Linked DNA regions of Homo sapiens: all the other regions are linked to region 6. The links are contacts of gene promoters, found by promoter capture Hi-C in blood cells and fetal thymus (Javierre and others, 2016). All regions are on one chromosome and are shown on one strand. Each heading gives the region's core, a stretch centred on a gene start or on the middle of the fragment in contact. The rest is flanking DNA. Distances are from core to core; before and after follow the strand shown.

What was found. The method cuts DNA at HindIII sites, captures the fragments that hold promoters and counts their contacts. A CHiCAGO score of 5 or more calls a contact.
Region 1: a fragment that was not itself captured here is called in contact with the fragment with the promoter of VAMP1 in region 6 in 6 of 17 cell types (total B cells, naive B cells, naive CD8 T cells and 3 more); the score reaches 10.2 in total B cells.
Region 2: a contact is called between the fragment with the promoter of LRRC23 here and the fragment with the promoter of VAMP1 in region 6, in 1 of 17 cell types (activated CD4 T cells). The highest score is 6.3, in activated CD4 T cells.
Region 3: a contact is called between the fragment with the promoter of C12orf57 here and the fragment with the promoter of VAMP1 in region 6, in 1 of 17 cell types (activated CD4 T cells). The highest score is 5.1, in activated CD4 T cells.
Region 4: a fragment that was not itself captured here is called in contact with the fragment with the promoter of VAMP1 in region 6 in 3 of 17 cell types (M0 macrophages, M2 macrophages and naive CD8 T cells); the score reaches 6.1 in M0 macrophages.
Region 5: a contact is called between a fragment that was not itself captured here and the fragment with the promoter of VAMP1 in region 6, in 3 of 17 cell types (total CD8 T cells, activated CD4 T cells and naive CD8 T cells). The highest score is 6.2, in total CD8 T cells.

What each region holds. Positions count from the first base shown.
Region 1 is chr12:6,194,321-6,197,405 of GRCh38, reverse strand. No RefSeq gene overlaps it. Among named protein-coding and RNA genes, the nearest start is that of CD9, 4.5 kb to the left of the region's middle. The HindIII fragment of the contact is 278 bases long and covers 1,471-1,748 here.
Region 2 is chr12:6,903,027-6,906,071 of GRCh38, reverse strand. LRRC23 (leucine rich repeat containing 23) reads right to left here and starts at 1,250. Exons shown (of 8, transcript NM_001135217.2): 1 at 997-1,250; 2 at 313-487; 3 at 118-227. The coding sequence starts at 438. The HindIII fragment of the contact is 20,869 bases long and covers 1-3,045 here.
Region 3 is chr12:6,942,012-6,945,298 of GRCh38, reverse strand. C12orf57 (chromosome 12 open reading frame 57) reads right to left here and starts at 1,277. Exons shown (of 3, transcript NM_138425.4): 1 at 1,126-1,277; 2 at 647-823. The coding sequence starts at 1,177. RNU7-1 (RNA, U7 small nuclear 1) reads right to left here and starts at 1,483; the gene lies at 1,421-1,483. ATN1 (atrophin 1) reads right to left here. Exons shown (of 10, transcript NM_001940.4): 10 at 2,978-3,287. RefSeq lists enhancers at 1-60, 621-770, 310-889, 781-900, 1,201-1,390 and 1 more and a silencer at 728-987. The HindIII fragment of the contact is 10,579 bases long and covers 1-1,338 here.
Region 4 is chr12:6,051,333-6,054,595 of GRCh38, reverse strand. VWF (von Willebrand factor) reads left to right here. Exons shown (of 52, transcript NM_000552.5): 16 at 1,813-2,053. Among named protein-coding and RNA genes, the nearest start is that of SNORA120, 13 kb to the right of the region's middle. The HindIII fragment of the contact is 7,611 bases long and covers 1-3,263 here.
Region 5 is chr12:6,725,875-6,728,864 of GRCh38, reverse strand. COPS7A (COP9 signalosome subunit 7A) reads right to left here. Exons shown (of 8, transcript NM_001164094.2): 3 at 864-939; 4 at 554-642. Among named protein-coding and RNA genes, the nearest start is that of COPS7A, 3.3 kb to the right of the region's middle. The HindIII fragment of the contact is 1,406 bases long and covers 598-2,003 here.
Region 6 is chr12:6,468,666-6,472,018 of GRCh38, reverse strand. It overlaps VAMP1 (vesicle associated membrane protein 1), which reads left to right and starts at 1,342. Exons shown (of 5, transcript NM_014231.5): 1 at 1,342-1,489. The coding sequence starts at 1,488. It also overlaps a transcript of TAPBPL not described here. RefSeq lists silencers at 791-1,050, 1,261-1,310, 1,811-1,860. The HindIII fragment of the contact is 5,218 bases long and covers 772-3,353 here.

The sequences.
Region 1 (3,085 bases), core at 360-2,859, 270 kb after region 6:
GCCAAAGGAAAAAATCAAGCTGGGAACTGCCACAGGCAAACCTGCCTCCCATTCCTAAATAAGATAGCTACAAAGATTTTTTAAAAAGCTATGCACTTCTCGGCCGGGCGCAGTGGCTCACGCCTGTAATCCCAGCACTTTGGGAGGCCAAGGTGGGCGGATCACGAGGTGAGGAGATCGAGACCATCCTGGCCAACATAGTGAAACCGCATCTCTACTAAAAATACAAAAATTAGCCAGGCATGGTGGCGCATACCTATAATCCCAGCTACTCGGGAGGCAGAGGCAGGAGAATCCCTTGAACCAGGGAGTTGGAGGTTGCAGTGAGCCGAGATCGCGCCACAGCACTCTAGCCTGGCGACAGAGTGAGACTCCGTCTCAAAAAGAAAAAACAAAAAAAGCTATGCACTTCTTGTTGGGCGCTGTGACTCACACCTGTGATCCAAGCACTTTAGGAGGCCGACGCGGGAGGATCATGAGGTCAGGAGATCAAGACCATCCTGGCTAACACGGTGAAACCTCGTCTCTACTAAAAATACAAAAAAATTAGCCGGGCGTGGCGGCGGGCGCCTGTAGTCCCAGCTACTCAGGAGGCTGAGGCAGGAGAATGGCGTGAACCCGGGAGGCAGAGCTTGCAGTGAGCCGAGATCGCGCCACTGCCCTCCAGCCTGGGGGACACAGCCAGACTCCGTCTCAAAAAAAAAAAAAAAAAAAAAAGCAGCTATGCACTTCTTTCACAATTTGCCCATGAGGAAATTTCTGGTGGACCCTATGATATTTGCCCTAAAACAGTTCTGTTGAATTTCACCATGACAATGTAAATTGATAGCATATCTTCACAGGTACAGAAAAAAGGACAGAACTCAAAGTCATCCCTCTGCTCACCTGAGACAAATGCATATCTGATTGCTTCCTCCAATGTAAAAATGAAGATTCGCTGTGCTAGACAAGGCATAAGTGACTTATTTCTCTACCCTCCTCTGCCATGTAAATTGTGCATTCAGTGAGAGGATGATCAGTGACTCAAAAGAATGCAACCGTTTGTTTCTTACCTACCCACACCTTAAAAAAACTTTCTTCCTCTTTCCCCACCAGCCGCCTTTTAAATATTGAAGCCCTCAAAATCATCTTTGCAGAAGGCACAGATCTGCCTCCTGGGCGCCCATCTGTAACCTTGGCAAAATAAACTTTCTAAATTGATTGAGACCTGTCTCAGATACTTTTTGGTTCACAGCATTTTGGATCAGGAGGTGTCTTTCATTCCTCCTGACATTCTGTGTCACAATAAACCCCTGGGCCAAAGTGCATTTGTTACAGACAGTTAGTGCTACAGGCAACCAGGAAGGTGAGCGATGGAAAAATTATGTTTTGCCTTAACCGGAAGAGGAAAATATGGGTAAGCCCCTGAGTCAGAAATCACATGGAAGCAGCCAGGCCTTCCAGGCTTTGTGGTGCTGGAGTGGGAAAGCTTTTCCTCCCTTCCCTCAAGGCGTCCTGTCTCTGGGAAAGAAACCCCAGCTCAGGCTCAGGGTCCACTTTGGCTCTTGTGCCCCCCCTGGTGGTAAGATTTGAACACGCAGAGGCCAGGTGACCTAATGAGCCGTCACACCCATGCCCCAGGTCCCTCCAGCTGTGGGCAATGGCTTTGTAAGGCAACAGGTAGGACCCTCGCTCTCACAGGCCACCAAGGCCCTTCCAGCCACCACACCAGTGGCCATCTTGATTCACCTCCTTCACTTCTAGAAGCTTCTCTCCTGTTCCTCTTTCTAAGCTCAAATACACCACCTTATGAAGCCTTCCTGGAGCACTCCAGTCTTTTTCTCCGTGGATTACCTTGAGTCTCGCATGTGTGATTCTCTGGTCATCATCATCTTCCTTTATGTGTCCACTTCTTGGTAGTGAGCTCCTCGAGGGTGCACTTGCATTTGATTAATTTCTGTGCTCTCCCTAGCTCCCGGTCCCTTCCTGGCCCAGAGCAGGCCCTCTGCAAACATCTGCAGAATGACGGCTGGGCGTGGGGCTTTCTCAGGCCCCTGCCCTTCTCTCTCAGACCTCTCCTGGAGCACTCATCCCCTTTTGTGCCTTCCACCATTTTCTCTGTTTAACTCATCTCTCTGTAAATGCAAGTCCTGATATCCAAGAGCCTGCAGATTTTTTTTTTTTGAGACCAAGTCTCGCTCTGTTGCCCAGGCTGGAGTGCAGTGGCTCAATCTCGGCTCACTACAACCTCCATCCCTGGGCTCAAGAGACTCTCTTGCCTCAGCCTCCCAAGCAGATTGAATTACAGGTGTGCGCTGCCATGCCCGGCTAATAATTTTTTTTTTTTTAGACGGAGTCTCGCTTTGTCACCCAGGCTGGAGTGCAGTGGCACGATCTTGGCTCACTGCAACCTCTGCCTCCCGGGTTCAAGTGATTCTTCTGCCTCAGCCTCCCAAGTAGCTGGGACTACAGGCGCACACCACCATGCCCAGCTAATTTTTGTATTTTTAGTAGAGACGGGGTTTCACCATATTGGCCAGGCTGGTCTTGAACTCCTGAATTCGTTATCTACCCACCTCAGCCTCCCAAAGTGCTGGGATTACAGGCGTAAGCCACCGTGTTTTTTATATTTTTTATATTTTTTATATTTTTAGTAGAGATGGGGTTTCCTCCTGTTGGTCAGGCTGGTCTTGAACTCCTGGCCCCAGGTGATCCGCCCACCTCAGCCTCCCAAAGTGCTGGGATTACAGGCGTGCGCCACCGTGCCTGGCCCGTTTCCACTTCTAACGGCCCTCCAAATAGGCCCACGTTCCAATCCCCAAAACTGTGAATGTGTTACTTTCCATGGCATAGCCTGGACCATCCCAGTGGGCCCAGTGGAATCCAAAGGGTTCTTATAAGAGACAGGTGGAAGTGTCAAAGCCAGGGAAGGAGATGTGACGACAGAAGCAGAGGTCGCAGTGATGCACAGCTGTGTGTTGGGGAACAAGGACAGCCTCTAGAAGCTGGAGAAGGCGAAGAAACGAATTCTCCCCTGCAGCTGCCAGAGGGATCCAACACAGCCCTGCCCACCCATTTTAGATTTCAGACCTCTAGAATTGTGAAA
Region 2 (3,045 bases), core at 1-2,500, 430 kb before region 6:
TTTCCACTAGGCATGAGAAGAGTCAAACTCTCAACCAGAACACCCAGGAATGACAGTGGGAAAGGAGATAGGGGCCCTACAGTCTCACAGTCCTCATCTGGTCCCCCCAAAACGCACCTCTCTTTAACCTCCAGCTTGACATAAGCATGAGCCAGCCCATTGCCTGTCTTACAGAGCAGAGAAAGCCCTTCCTTCATCATGTCCTCCGTGAGGGGGGTGGGCAGCCACTGCAGGTAGAAGTGGAGTAAGGTGTCTCTCCCCTGCCCAACCCCCTCCTTCAGCCCTAGGACCCCTCCTTGTCCAGGCTCTCACTTCCTCAGGGAACTCTTCCCCCTCTTTTCTGTAGTCCTCCCCCTCCTCTGTCTCCTTCTCGTCCTCTTCTTTCTCAGAATCATCCTGGTCTGGCTCAGAGTCTTCTAGATCATCTTCATCTGACATCTTTCTTCCCTCCTGAAAGCTCTGGAGTCAGATAAGCTCAGTCCTCCTCCTGAAAAAGAAGGTCTCATCAGCTTCTGCCAGCCTTCAGCTCCTTCATCGTCATTGACACGTGCCACTCCCATCACCCCCATGACTTCTGACCCACCAACTCTAGGCTTCTTTCCTTATCCCTGTGAACATCTCATTTTGATTCTCAACTCCCACTTCACACTTTCCACTGAGGACCCCCTCCCTTCAGGATGTCACCCACACCCCCAGGCCTTTCCTGTCCTTCACAGTGACTCCAGCTCTCCTCCAGCAGCCGGGTGTCCCTATTTCCTGGGCTTCCCTCTCCCCCATTCTTCCCACCTCCCCCTTAAGCCATGCTCTCCAATCTTCCCTACCAATTCCTCCTCCTCTCCTCTCAGCTCCCATTGCGCCATCCGTAATCCCTGCTCCATTCATTTCTTCTACTTTTCCCTCCCCACTGGGCCAATTTCCTTGGGCCCTCTGGTACACCAGCCTAAAGCGCAGTCTCCAACCCTCCCACTCAATTCGCCTTAGCAAAGGGGCTCAGACCCTGTTTCTGCTCAATCAGAAGCAGTTCTGGAGAGGCCCTTGGTCCCGAGAGGGAAGGACTGTTTAGCAAGCGGGCGAGGGGAAGGAGGGGTTGTGTACTGCTGTTATGGCAACGGGGACGGGGCACTTGGCAACTGCAGCTCGCCACCGTTGAGAGTAGAGCGGCGACTACCTGATGCGCAAATCAGCCGGGGAGGGGATTGATCAGTAGTTGCCTGGTTACCACGCCACTTTCCCGTCCCGGGAACCCGGATGAGGCGCGGAAGGGGCGTTGGGCCGCTAATTGGCTGAGGACAAAAAGAAGTGGGCAGGGCTGAGAAGCGAGAAGAGAGGGGGCGGGGCTAGTCATTACGTCACCCAAGACCTTAAAGGGACCGGACATCTTCAATGCAAAAGTATTGTGAATTCAGGAAAAACTCGTCCTTCGAAGCAAAAAGGGCGGGGCTGCGAGGAAAAGCAAGAAACACCAAGATAAGGGGTCTTTTCCCCTTCCCCCTATAGTTTCTGCTCATTAGTTATTTTCAGGTAGACCTTTGGAAGGTGGCTTGGTGGAGCGGAAGGAGTCCAGACCCAGATACCTTAAGAACTGGGTTGGAGTCTTGGCAGATCTGCATTTGCTAGCTAAACGTACCCAAGACTCTTTGTTATCTGTAGAATTAGCTTAACTATATCAACTGACAGGGATCCAGTATGAGTTATCCTGGACTGGTTTGATGCAAACCTTTTAGTGGGTGGAAGGCAGAAAATTCAACATCTGCCCACTAAAATACTCCTGATCCAACGTTGTTATATCAGTAATCAACAGGAACTGGCATAGCCAAACCCAGGCACTCAGGCCTGTCTGACATGTTGAAGGAGATGAAAAAGATGTTGAGATGCAATAAATATTTCTGGAGAGTTTGTGCGAGACATTATGTCAAACATCTTTACAACTGATATTTAATCTCTGCAACAGTCCTGTAAGATAGACATTTGAAAGAAGAGGATACTGAGGCTCAGGGAGGTTAAGATGACACAATTCCTGCCTGGGGAAAGGGGGATGTTACCAATCTTGTTGTGGAATCTAATGTAAATGAAACAATGAGGTAACCAGGTAAGATGGCATGTGATTCATTGTTAAATTGTGCCCACAGACTTTATATAACGGCAAAGTGGTCTGGTGGAAGATGTGGTGGGCAAGAAATCAGGAAGTATTATATTACCTCCTGCCCAGGGCAGCTTGGAGGAATGTGGTTAATAGGCAAATCTGTTTACTTGGTGTCATGGAACCAGTAGGGACTTTAAAGTCAGAGACACCAGCTTCAAAACCCATCTCTACTACTTAATACCTGTGTGTCCTTCAGCAGGTTATGAAATCTTACTGAGGTCTAATTTCCACAGTCGTGAAATGGGGATTATTAAAACGTCCACCTGTAAGGATTGTTAAGGGATTAAAAGAGATAATGTGGGTAAATCGCCTTGCACTTAGTTGACCCTTAGTAAACATTTTCCTGCTCCTCCCCACCCCTGGCCTGTGTCCTTGGTACTGGGGTTGCTGTGAGGAAAAAGAAATAATAAATATGAACACTCTGAAGAGTGAGATGTGCTATACAAATGAAAGTTATTGTATTGTTGGAGTGTGGAGAAGGGAAAAATCCATGTGGTTTGATGTAGTCAAAAGAAATGGATATGAGTTTCCTTGGCCAAGAAGAAAGAGGAAGACACATTAGATGGGAAGAAAAGTTGTGATGTAAGGGTTAGGAAGGTGTCCTTGAACATACACTTTTGTTATTTTGTTTTTATTTTTGTTTTGAAATAGAGTTTCCCTCTGTCGCCCAGGATGGAGTGCGGTGGAGCAATCATAGCTCACTGCAACGTCCACCTCCTGGGCTCAAGCAGTCCTTCCGTCTCAGCCTCCTGGGTACCTGGGACTACAGGTGTGCGCCACCATGCCAAGTTAATTTTTTTGTATTTTTTGTAGAGACAAGGTTTTGCTATGTTGCCCAGGCTAGTCTCAAACTCCTGGGCTCAAGCAATCCGCCCGCCTCGGCCTTCCAAAGTGCTGGGATT
Region 3 (3,287 bases), core at 28-2,527, 470 kb before region 6:
AAGGTGGCACAACAGCATTTAAGTCCAGCTCTGCTACTCGAGAGTCTGCACCATTAGAGTTTGCTTCCTCATCACAAAATGGAATAATAATGTGATTAACAGTACAGGTTGACCATCCTTAATTAGAAAATCCAAAATCTGAAATTATGAGTGCCAGTGTGAGGCCGAAAATGGAAAATTCCACACCTGACTTCATAGTGGGGGGTGGGGGAGACTGTAGTCAAAACGCAGTCAAAACTTTGTCTCATGCACAAAATTATTCAGACTATTATATAAAATTACCCTCAGGCTATGTGCATAAGGTGCGTGTATATGAAACAAAACAATTTCGTGTTCAGATTTAGGTCCCATCCCCCAAGATATCCATGTATATGTAAATATTCCGAAATCTGAAAAAACCCGAAACACTTCCGGTCCCAACCATTTCGGGTAAGGGATACAGAACCTCTACTGTACAAAACGCAACTCGGACGCACAAGCTCAGGGTAGACCCTGGGCTCTGAGTGCCAAGAATGTTAGTCAGATTGTGGCTGCCGCCGTGTGGCGAGAAAGGGGACAACCGCTCATGGGCCCACAGATCCGGCGCCCTCTCCCGACCCAACTCCCGCCTTCCCGCGTCTGACCCGCCTTCCCGCGTCTGACCCACCTTCCCCGTCGCAGCTGAAGCCATAGGCTTTGATAACCTCCTGCTGGATCTGCGTGGCCACGGGCAGCACGAATTGCAGCATCTTACCCATGTCGTTGCAGGCGTTATCCCGAGCCTCGTCCATGCGCACTGCATTCTCCGGGGCGGAGAACGCCTGGATCACCTCCGCGAGGACCACTGCGCGCCAGAAGCATCCCAGGGAGGCGTCCCGGGTAGGCGTCGGAGAACAGACAGCGGGCCCAGCGGAGAGCGCAAGGAATTAGTGGATTGAGGCTGTAGGTAACCCAATAAGATCCCAAGTCTTGGGGGCAAGCGCCCCACTTAGAAGGACGGTACCCGGCGTCCCCTACCCCATTTTCCCGGCGGACGTAGCCAGGTTTGTCGCCCCACATCCTCCGCCCGCATCCTCCCCAGACCAGCAGCCCATGCCTTGACTACCCCAGGCCAGCAGCCTATGCCTTGACTAGGACGATTCTCACCCTTTGCTTGCTCAGCGCTCAAGGCCGCCGGTTGGGTCGAGGCGGACGCCATAGGGCGTCTGAAGCTCTAGGTTCAGCGGAGGTAAATGGAAAACTCACGAATAAAGAGCCACGTCCTACAACCGTTCCCAACGCCCCTGGGAGCGGAAAGGAAACAGCATCCGGCGCAGCCGGAAGCGCCCAGGCGTGGCCCAAACCTTCATACCCCAAGCTTACAACTGCATCAAGACCACCAAAACTACCCATAATTTTTGCACAGTGAAAACAATCTATCATTGGCAACAAACATCATAAGAGGGGCTTTCCGGTAAAAAGCCAGAAAGCCTACTAGACAAATTCTAAAAGAGCTGTAACACTGCTGCGTATGTGTTTGGAGAGAAGATGGGATATAAAGGAACTCCACAATTGATGAGGGTGAGCTTAGGTGACTTTTTTCTTGTTCCTATTACTGTATAAACAACGACGCATGTGGTAACTTTCAGTAGGAAAAATAATATTCTAAGGAACTTACTTAAGTCATTCATTTCTAGAGTTCGCGAACATTTGTTCTCAGCCCATGCAAATGAGTTCGGTGCTGATTGGTTGAGAAAGCAGCCAGTCACAGCCCCTTCGTTGTTGTTAAGCCCGGAGACCTGGATTCGGCAGTAAAGGCCCAGAGCAAAAGCCGTTGTCGCAGTTTCCTAAAGGCCTTGTCTATTGATGAGCGATGGAGCCTAATGCCCGGCCCGATTTCCCTTCCCTTCCAGGCTTTTATCACCCACTCCCTTCTCAAACTGTAGGTGGTTAAGGATGCCAGGTACTAATCGCCTGGACCTATTAAAACTAGCCCACCCCACCCCCGCTTCATAACCGGCTTTGTTTTTTGTTTTTGAGACGGAGTCTTGCTCTGTCGCCAAGCTGGAGTGCAGCTGGGGGGGATCTTGGCTCACCATAACCTCCACCTCCCGGGTTCAAGCGATTCTCCTGCCTCAACCTCCCAAGTCGCTGGGACGACAGGCGCGCGCCACCATGCCCAGCTAATGTTTTGTTTTTAGTAGAGACAGGGTTTTGCCATGTTGGCCAAGCTGGTCTGGAACTCCTGACCTCGTGATCCGCCCGCCTCGGCCTCCCAAAGTCCTGGGATTACCAGCGTGAGCCGTCGCGCCTGGCCTCATAACCGTTTCTTAAAGTATTCCACGGAAAGGTTTCAGGACTCTGAAGCCCTTGTTCCGGAGGACTCTGGTGGCTCCTAGCAGTGAGACCCGTCTGAATAGATTCCTAGAACTGACCACGTCAGAGGTGGGCCTGTCCCAGGCCTCTAGTGTTTGGTTGGTTGGGGTGTCTTTTGTTTGTTTGTTTTGAGATAGGGCCTTGCTCTGTCACCCAGGCTAGAGTGCAGTGGTGCGATCATGACTCACTGTAGCCTCGACCCCCAAGTGATCCTCCCACCTCAGCCTCCTGAGTAGCTGGGACCACAAGTGCACCACAACCCCCAGCTGATTTTGTCTTAAGATGGGGTTTCTCTATGTTGCCCAAGCTGGTTTCCAACTCCTGGGCTCAAGCAATCCACCCGCGTCTCACAGGCATAAGCCACAGAGCCCAGACCGAGGCCTCCACTGGCGCGCAGCGGTCCTGCCCAGCCTTGGGGCAGGAGGGGGCACCAGCACCCATGGTACCGCCTCCAGCTGAGTCAAGGCTCTGGGCTCTTCAGGGATCCCCTCTCCAATTCTTCCCAGCCCCCACACCCCGTTCCTTAAGAAGGTCTGGTCTCTTCCCGCTTCCCTGCCAGGCCCTGGCTGCAGTTCTCTCTAAGCACCGCTGCACTGAGACCCAGCCTCACCCCCATATCCCGCAAAGAATAGTCACAGCCATGTTCCTGGGGAGTTGTGAGGATGTTTTTGTTTGGTTGGTTTTGGTTGGGATGTTTTTTTAAGAGCGTCATATAGATATTTATATATATAAATTATTAGTGTGGGGAAGGGGCAAGGGGCATACATTGCAGAGGGGGCGCGCACACAGGGATCGGGGAGGGGCAGGGGTGGCACACGATGCTACGCAAAACAGCCACATCTAACAGATGAAATAATCACACCAACGGGGCAGGGGAGGGGCGGCGGCCACAGGGGTTGGGCATGGGGGAGGAGAAAAGCAGGGGGGACAAGGAAGAGAGACCTGGTCCAAGA
Region 4 (3,263 bases), core at 573-3,072, 420 kb after region 6:
CCTAGCATAGCCCCTGGCATGCAGTGGATACACAAGAAGTGTCTGCTAAACTGAGATGTGCATTGTTTCTTTGGGGAAGAAGGCTAAAGGAGAAATTTAATAAGGCTCCAAGCCAGCCCTAGAGATAGCCTATCAGAACAAAGAAAGTTCTCAAGTCTAGCTGCTTTTTAATGGGTAAAATGTGCCCTTGTCATTGTAGGCTCAGGTGGTTGAAAGACATCTCCATCTTTATTGTCTAACACATCCTGTCTTAACCTACACTCCCTCAGTATTCATCCAATAATCCAACCTTTCCATTCTTGCAGAGAAAAATCAATGTCTAATAGGATTAAAGAGGCCCTCCCTTCCCAGCTACCTTCAAACACCAAGTTCAGGGTGGTTGTAGGAGCGGGAGGCTGCAGGGTCTCTCCAGAGGCTCCCCACTCCATTGTTCAGGCTCACGGCCAAGGCTTACTTTTATAACATCTGTGAAATGCCCTGCCAGTAGGTTTCTGCTGGAGCAATGGATTTGAACAGAGAGGGGAAGGATTGTGATGGTCTCAGAAGAAGCATGCCCAGGGTGAGGTTCTCATTTCTTGGGCAGCAGCTGGTCTGCACAGGGAAGGCATTTTGAAAGGGCAGAATGCTCCCCACACCTTCCCTGTCCTCTACCCTGCCCATAAGGAATTTTGTCACCAGAATGCCAGAGCTTCTGAGGCCTAGGCCTTTCTCTGGAACACTCCTTCCTTCTTGGGACCGCTGAGCTGGGGCTGTTTCCTTAGCAATAAGAATAATAATTATTATCAGTGAACATTATTAGCAGTGAACATTCTCCACATGCCAGACATTCTTCTAAATGTGTTAGCTCATTCAACCTTCACAAAGACTGGGTGGATACTGTTATTCCATCCAGTGAGGATACTGCCCAAGATCACACAGCCAGCTAGTGGTGGACCTGGGCGTGAACCCAGGTATTTGGGATACAGAGCCCGTTCCCTTAGCTGCGTTGCCACTTTGCTACACTTCCTTCTGGCTTGTGTCTCTTGCAGTATTTTTCTGTGGGAGGCTAGGGAGGGTGAGGGCTGTGGGCAGATGGGTGCAGCCCATTTCGCTGTGGTAGGCATGAGTGTCCCTCCTCTTTGGGACCAGCATGTCCTCAAAGGGACTGTTTTCTTTCTAGAGAGTAAGGGTTATGAGCATGAGCTTTAGGGCTGCAGAGAGCTGAGTTCAAATCCTTCCTCTGCTTCTTCCTGTGAGGTATACCCCTAACAAGTCACTCAGCCTAAGTTTCTTGAAAGGGGGTGATGAGAGCTAACTCGGCATGAGGCATAGAGCCCACGTAAGAGCAAGGCATTCAGTAGGTGCTCCATAAATGGTACTCATTGTTGTCACGGGGTATGCCCTTGCCCGTCATTCCCAGTACTTTTTAATATTCACAGCTTCAAAACCTGCCAGGATTTCTACTACATCCTAGGCTTTGAGAATTCAGAGATGACTAATGCACATTCCCTGTGGTTGAGGAAAGGAGAAAATGTGTGCCCCCATAATTATAATACATATCTGCATGCTGAAAAATACACATTTGCTCATAGTGGGAAAGGAAGTTGATGACCATACAGATATAATTGGGGGTCACTTGGGGAAAACTGGGTAAAGGGTACATGGGATCTTTCTGCATTACTTCTTGTAATTGCAAGCAAGTCTACAATTATCTCAATAAAAATTTTAATTAAATAATTGGGGGTCACAGCTACAAGGGGTGGCAAGTCCTAGAACCACAGTCCTTGCTGTCCAACATTCCCGCTGAGGCCTTACTTCTCCTCTCTCTTCTAGAGCTGAACTGCCCGAAAGGCCAGGTGTACCTGCAGTGCGGGACCCCCTGCAACCTGACCTGCCGCTCTCTCTCTTACCCGGATGAGGAATGCAATGAGGCCTGCCTGGAGGGCTGCTTCTGCCCCCCAGGGCTCTACATGGATGAGAGGGGGGACTGCGTGCCCAAGGCCCAGTGCCCCTGTTACTATGACGGTGAGATCTTCCAGCCAGAAGACATCTTCTCAGACCATCACACCATGTGGTAAGTGCAGGCAGCAGTGTCAGGGACCTCTAAAACAGCAGAGCTGGGGAGGAAAACGGGACCCCCAAGTCCTTTACTTCATGGATGGGTAAACTGGGGCCCAAGGAAGGAAGTGACTTGTCCAGAACTGTACAGCAAGTCAGAAGCGGAGCTGGGATTTGGTCCAGGTCTTCTGACTTCCTTACTACACAGGGAACTGGGATTCCTGGCTGGCAGTAGGAGTTCTTGAGTTTTATTGCCAACTGTTATGTGTTGGCCCCCATTTCTGGGCTTTAGGTCTCAGTTTTCCTTTTCTGGAACAGGAAAAGGGAGATCTGCCTGTCACCCTCCTTTCCAGCCTGCTTTCAGTATTCTCAAGCTGAAGCATTTGAGCAGGAAGAACATGGACCACTGCAGCGCTGCCTCCATGGGGCATTGCTACCCTGACCTGCTTCATGCACTTCCCCAAAATAGCTCCAAATCATGCTTGCTTCCTGCAGCTCTTTGCCTAGGCCTTCTGTGACAGTCGGTTTCAACAGGGTTGCCATGAGCGTGGAAGAAATTTACAACAGGACATTTGTTGAGCAAACACTTACCTGTCACCTGTTCTGTCTTAGTTCTGGCTAAGAATTGGTGGTCTAAAGATGAGCCAGGCTGGGGCAGTGGCTCACATCTGTAATCCCCAGCACTTTGGGAGGTGGAAGTGGGAGGAATGCTTGAGCCTGGGAGTTTGAGAGCAGCCTGGGCAACATAGTGAGGCCCTGTCCCTAAATACAAAGAAAAAAAAATAGTTGGCCATGGTGGTGCATACCTGTAGACCCAGCCACTTGAAATACTGAGGTGGGAAGATTGCTTGAGCCCAGGAAGCCAAGGCTGCAGTGAACTGTGATCGCGCCACTGCATTCTAGCCCGGGCGACAGAGGGAAATCCAGTCACCAGACACAGTACCTGATAGTCTACTAGGGAAGACCAGTTAGAAACATCCTGATTGGCCAGGCACAGTGGCTCACGCCTGTAATCCCAACACTTAGGGAGGCCGAGGTGGGCGGATCACGAGGTCAGTAGATCGAGACCATCCTGGCTAACACGGTGAAAATACAAAAAATTAGCTGGGTGTGGTAGCGGGTGCCTGTAGTCCCAGCTATTTGGGAGGCTGAGGCAGGAGAATTGCTTGAACCCAGGAGGCGGAGGTTGCAGTGAGCTGAGATCTTGCCACTGCACTCCAGCCTGG
Region 5 (2,990 bases), core at 51-2,550, 260 kb before region 6:
TTATCATTTATACTCTGCCTACCTGCAACGGGCATTCCTTTGGAGGTATCTCTCAATAGAGAGCCTGGTTTAAATTAAATCCCAAGGACAACTGAGAGTCAAGTAACTATTGCGAGGTTGCAGACTGGGCAGGCTGGGGAGGTGGGTGGTGATATTAGACAAAAAACAGCCTAACAGGAATACAGAGATACTTCTAGAATATATATGTTTTATCCTAACAAAGAGAAGCCTAGCACTTCATCAGGAGAGCCCTGTTTCCAGCAGTGGGGAAGAAGGTATTGTTGAACGACACCTGAACAACATCCTAGTTGCTATTTTGACCAAAACCACAGAAGATGTTTATTTAGAACTTAAGTTGATTAAAAAATAAAAACAACACAGAAAACTAAGAATACTATCAGCCTAAACAGTTGCTAATGGAGTTTATATACAGACCTTGGAGGAGGGGAGGGCAGGAAGCAGCCACGGTCTAGACAAGGGCTGTCCTAGTGTGGACTCCCAAGGACATACAAAAGGATGCTCTAGACCGTAGGACTGGGGGACTGCCACTCACCTTTACTTTAGCAGCCAGGGTGACAACTGAGAGGTGTCGAAGCTTATTCTTCTGAGCCTCTGTTAGTGGAGGAAGATTCCGGGCTTCAGCTAGGGAAAAACGACAAAGTGTAAGGAATCCTGATTTCAGTTTTCTGGGAAGCCCTAGCCTCCTTCCCTTCCCTCCCACTTTCAATGCCAATTCAGGTCTTGACCCTGACCCTATGCATCCAGGGATCTAAGTGGGATATCCCAGGAATTTCTTCTGAGTCCCTCCAGAAATTGCCCTTCTCCCATCTCCATTACTCCAGAGCACCAACCCCTCTGGTTACCTAAGTAGTCAGCGTATGTCCCATAAGCAAACACTGTGAGCAGCCGGAAGGTAGAGGCAAAGTCACTCTCAGCCAGCTGCGAGAATGAGGAAAAAGGAGGTGACGGGAAGTCTTCCCTCTCCACCCTCCCAGCCTTACCCTGTTTGGAACTCCACTTTTTGGCCCCATCTTTCCCGGCCAATGTTAACTCTCCTGGCTCACCAAAAGGAGTTCTCTGCCTCTCTGATCACTCTTCACATAGGAAGGGCTCATTTCCACCTTCAGGCTTTTGTTTACACTATTCTCCCAAACCACAATGCCCTCTTGCTCCATACGTCATCCAATTCCTACCCTAAATTCAGAGTTGAAGACATTCAGTTTTCAGAGTCAAACAGACATACACACCAGACACTGCAAATTGTGTTGCCTGCCCTCAGAGTGTTTGATGTTTCTAAATTGGAATATGTCTAGACAGTCTCCAGTACTCCCCAATTCACCAGACTCCTGCCTCAGCCTCACTCATCTCTGACAGCTGCACAGCCTAGAAAGACATCTAAACTTATGGTCTCTGCTTCAGACACACCTGACCAGGACACTGTCTTGCATCACCCAGCCCAGTCCACCCAGATTTCCTCTCCTCCTATCATGGATCACTCATTCTGGCACTTTTTTTTTTTTTTTTTTTTGAGACAGAGTCTCCCTCTGTTACCCAGGCTGGAGTGCAGTGGCGCGATCTTGGCTCACTGCAACCTCCGCCTCCCAGGTTCAGGCAATTCTCCTGCCTCAGCCTCCCAAGCAGGTGGGATTACAGGCGTGCACCACCACACCAGGCTAATTTTTGTATTTTTAGTAGAAACAGGGTTTCGCCACATTGGCCAGGCTGGTCTCGAACTCCTGACCTCAGGTGATCCACCTGCCTTGGCCTCCCAAAGTGCTGGGATTATAGGCGTGAGCCACTGTGCTCAGCTTCATTCTGGCACTTAATCAATCAATCCTTGCAGAAGGTTGCTACCTAAGAATATCTTTCAACAAGATTATAGACCCAGTCTCAGGTATCCCACAGAGCTATGCAGTAATTGCCTCGCAAGAAATACTTGCTAAATAAATAAATAATTCAGATTTCTATCCATTCATCTTCTCTCTTCAACTGGAATGCAAGCTTCAGAAGGGTAAGCTCCATGCCTGGTGCTTTTCTTGTATTCCCAGACCATAAGAAGGGTAGTAAAGAGCCACTTAATAAGTGCTTCTTTTTCTTTTTCTTTGAGATGGTGTCTCACACTGTCACCCAGGCTGGAGTGCAGTGGCGCGACCTCGGCTCACTGCAACCTCCGCCTCCCTTTTTTTTTTTTTTAAATTATACTTTAAGTTCTGGGATACATGAGCTTTTGTTTGTTTTATTTATTTATTTATTTTTTTTTTTGAGACAGAGTCTCACTCTGTTGCCCAGGCTGGAATGCAGTGGTGCAATCTCGGCTCACTGCAACCTCCTGCCTCCCAGGTTCAAGTGATTCTCCTGCCTCAGCCTCCCGAGTAGCTGGGATTACAGGCGCCTGCCACCGCGCCCGGCTAATTTTTGTATTTTTAGCAGAGACGGGGTTTTGCCATCTTGGCCAGGCTGGTCTTGAACTCCTGACCTCATGATCCACCCACCTCGGCCTCCCAAAGTGCTGAGAACAGGCATGAGAGGCATGAGCCACCATGACTGGCCCTGTTTTTCGTTTTTGTCTTGTTTTTTGAGATGGAGTCTCGCTCTGTCGCCCAGACTGGAATGCAGTGGCTCGAACTCAACTCACTGCAACCTCAGCCTCACCCTTCCAAGCAGCTGGGACTACAGGCGCCCGCCACCACACCCGGCTAATTTTTTGTATTTTTAGTAGAGACGGGGTTTCACCATGTTAGCCAGGATGGTCTCCATCTCCTGACCTCATGATCCGCCCACCTCAGCCTCCCAAAGTGCTGGGATTACAGGCATGAGCCACCGTGCCCAGCCCTGTTTGTATTTTTAACAGAGACAGGATTCTGCCATATCGGTTTCACCTCCTGCCCTCAGGTGATCCACCTGCCTTGGCCTTCCAAAGTGCTGGGATTACAGGCATGAGCCACCGCACCCAGCCAAGTGCTTCTTTTTCATCACTTTGATTGATACTC
Region 6 (3,353 bases), core at 93-2,592:
GTCTCTGTGAAGTTTTAGGGATAGTTACCATGTTATTGTTTTCTATTTCCCTTTTTATGCATGCACAAGAGTGAAATATAGAAATCGGTATGTATATAAACCCATATTTTCAATACATGTAAAACAAAAATGCTAAGTGGTAAGGAAAGCATTTGTCACAGATAATTTGCAACCTTTTTTCTTTTTTTTTTTGAAACAGGGTCTTGCTCTGTTGCCCAGGCTGGAGTGCAGTGGCGTGATCTCGGCTCACTGCAACCGTCGGCTCCCGGCTTCAAGCGATTCTCTTATCTCAGCCTCACGAGTAGCTGGGATTACAGGCGCCCGCCACCATGCCTGGCTGTTTTGTATTTTTAGTAGAGACAGAGGTTTCGCCATGTTGGCCAGGCTGGTCTCGAACTCCTGATCTCAGGTAATCTGCCTGACTCGGCCTCCCAAAGTGCTGGGATTACAGGTGTGAGCCACTGCGCCCGGCCTTGTAACCTTTTTTCTTAGCGGGACATAAAATAATGGTGAATTTTCCAACTGATGGAGTCCAGGAAAGGGATAATAGTGAGCAGAGGGGAGATAATCACTGGAATGCCAAGAAGGAAAAATCAACTCGATTTGGCAGATTACTGGGGGAGAGGTAAAGGTGAAGGGGAGGAAATCTAGGATGGTTTCCACGTTTCTGGTCTGGGCAACTGAGTCGATGTGGTAACCTCGACTGGAGCAGGTTTGGGAGGGAGTTCAATTTAGGAAGGCTATGTTGAAAGAAACGAATGAACGAAAGCTTCGTGCTTGCTTTGGTGGGACGGAACCCCGCATCCGGTATCTGGCACCAGGAGCTTGTGGCTGTGTCTCGAGGCTCCTGCACCCTCTCAGAGCGTTAGTTAGAGGCGGGGCGGTGGTGCGGAGCGAGGGCCAGAGCAGGGCACCAGGGCTGGGCGCGCACCAGGAAGCCGCCGCCTCCAGCTGAATGCGCGAGTCCCGGCGCGGGGTGGGGCAGGGGCGGGCACGGTCTTCAGTAACTGCCTAGCGATTGGTTGGGAGGCACCACAAATGCCTAACAAACTGCTGAAGCGCCCTCCGAAGGGACAGACCTCATCTCCACCCCGCCCCGTCCCTCCGCCAGACTGGAGCGCAAACTATGGTCGCATTGATCACTGAAGGATCCTCACAGCAACCGCTCCTTTCCGGAGTCGGATGAGAGGAGAGTTGTGACTGGCAATTGGCAGGGGCGGGGCGGGCTAGGCCTGTAGCGCTGGGCGACCGTCCTGGGCATGGATTGGGCCGCGGGGTTGTCACCGTTATCCGGGAGGCGTGGTCAGCACTAATAAAGGCGGAGGCCGGCGCGGCAGCTGCAGTAAGTTCCAGCGCAGCTAGACCGCGGGGTAGTCGGCGCGAGGCGGAGCTTGGCAGTTCCGTCCACTTCAGCCGCAGCGTCCCTCACCGGGTGTCTCGCCGCAGCCTCCGGAGAGGAACAGACCCTCACTCTCTCTGTCAGAAAAATGTGAGTTGACTCTGGTGTGGGGGCTCGGCACCTCCTTGACAACTCTCGCCCCAAGCTCCCGATTCTGCGGGACGGAAAATGGCGCAATGCAGCAGCTGCAGCAACGCGGGGAACTACCACCGCGCGCCGCTTCCGGACCGGGCCACCCCCAGGGAGGGGGGCCAGCACCCCATTCTCGCACCAGCCACAGCTAGCACCCCACGGGCGGGGCAGGGGCGCAGGGGTCCCACAATCATTGCACCCTCTCCTCTCGTCTGAGTGGCGCCTCATTCTGGTTTTGGTATAGTGGAGACTCGGAGAGGGCGGGGGCTGGGGGTGGTGGATGGAGACAACTGGGCAGGGGACTCGAAAGGTATTTCTGTCATCTGGCTAAATCACTACTCAGCGCCTCAGGAAAGACAGTCATGGGTGCAACTGCCAGTTGGTAACTTATGTTGCCCTACAATCTCTGGATTTGTTTACCCCTCACCCAAAGTGTGATGTCTAGCCCCCCTCATGGCAGTGAGCAAAGCTGCAGAAACTTATCTGCCAGTTCTCTGGCACCAGGTGAGCAGCTCAGAAAGACTCAAGGGGTAGTGGGATAGTGGCCTGTCATCCCAAGCGGCTGTTCATACCAAGGCCATTCGTATAGGAGATGTTTTTCTATCACCGAGTCTTACCAAATAGTTGGAGGAGAAATAGGGAGAGCTGAGCTTTCCCCCTTTCCTCCAACACACACAGTTTAGTCTCCAGCAGTCTTCAACATCACCCCCTTCGCATGATCTTGAGGGAAAACTACGGCTAAACAAACGAAGTACTTCTCTGTCAAGACCTCAATATGTCTAATACAGATTTTTCTTTCTGATTACTACCCTGGCCTGGTCCTAGATGTATTTATGTTGCTTCTCTAAGTGACAAAAAAGGGAAAGATTTACTTGTGTTACATAAGGGTTGTAATTATCCCTAGATATTTTACTGTTGAGTGTTTCCAACTCCCAACAAGTAGTAAGTGAAATTGGCCTTGCAAATACTTCATAGCCATTTCACTTTTTCTTTTTGATTTCTATGGTTTTAACCAGATATGAGTGTTCTATGCATTTTGGGCAAGCCGTAGAATTCCAGTTGTTTTCATTTTGGGGAGGGGGCTTCCAGATAGTATCTACGTGGGATGAACAGAAGGCAACAGAAAAATCGTGGTGGCTAGCGGGGCATCACGAGGTCTCTGACCTTAATCTTGTCATTGGTGCTACCATCCTGGACTGCTTCCAACACTGGCTGCTACCTACTCATTGAATTTTCTGCCTTAAGTCGAGAGCTAGATTGCTTAGCTAGCTCAGTGGCAGGACAAGAGTCTTGTGGCTCCCATGACTTTGTGTCTATCTTTGCTTTACCTCCTTTGCACCTTAGAGGGAAATGGAAAAGTGATTCTTCAAATGGGGAATGAGTCAGGTGTAATCTGCTACCATAGCCTCTCTGAGGAGTTATTCTCTATCTTTTTAGACTAAAAGAAATTCACTTAATCAAGGAGAATGAGCTTCTGGGTATTAGTTCTATTGTAATTAGTCAAATAATTTCCTTTTAGGTGACTTTGTGGTTTCATTTTTGTTGCATTTACTCTTGGACTGCTCCTGTGAAGTATGTTTGGTGAGATTCTGCTTCTGTTTGAGGAGTTCTTACTGTAATTTCTATTCTCCATCAAATTTGAGAGATCTCCCCCCTGCCTGTGGGTGCTTCCTTGGCCGAGAACATCTCATGACTTAGGTTATACTTCTGGGAATTCTTTAGGAGGTGAGTTTAGCCTCCATGTTTTGGGACATGGAGAGGAGTTTGTCTTGAAGACCACACACTAACTTTGAGTGGTACAGAATGAGAGAACATTCTCTGT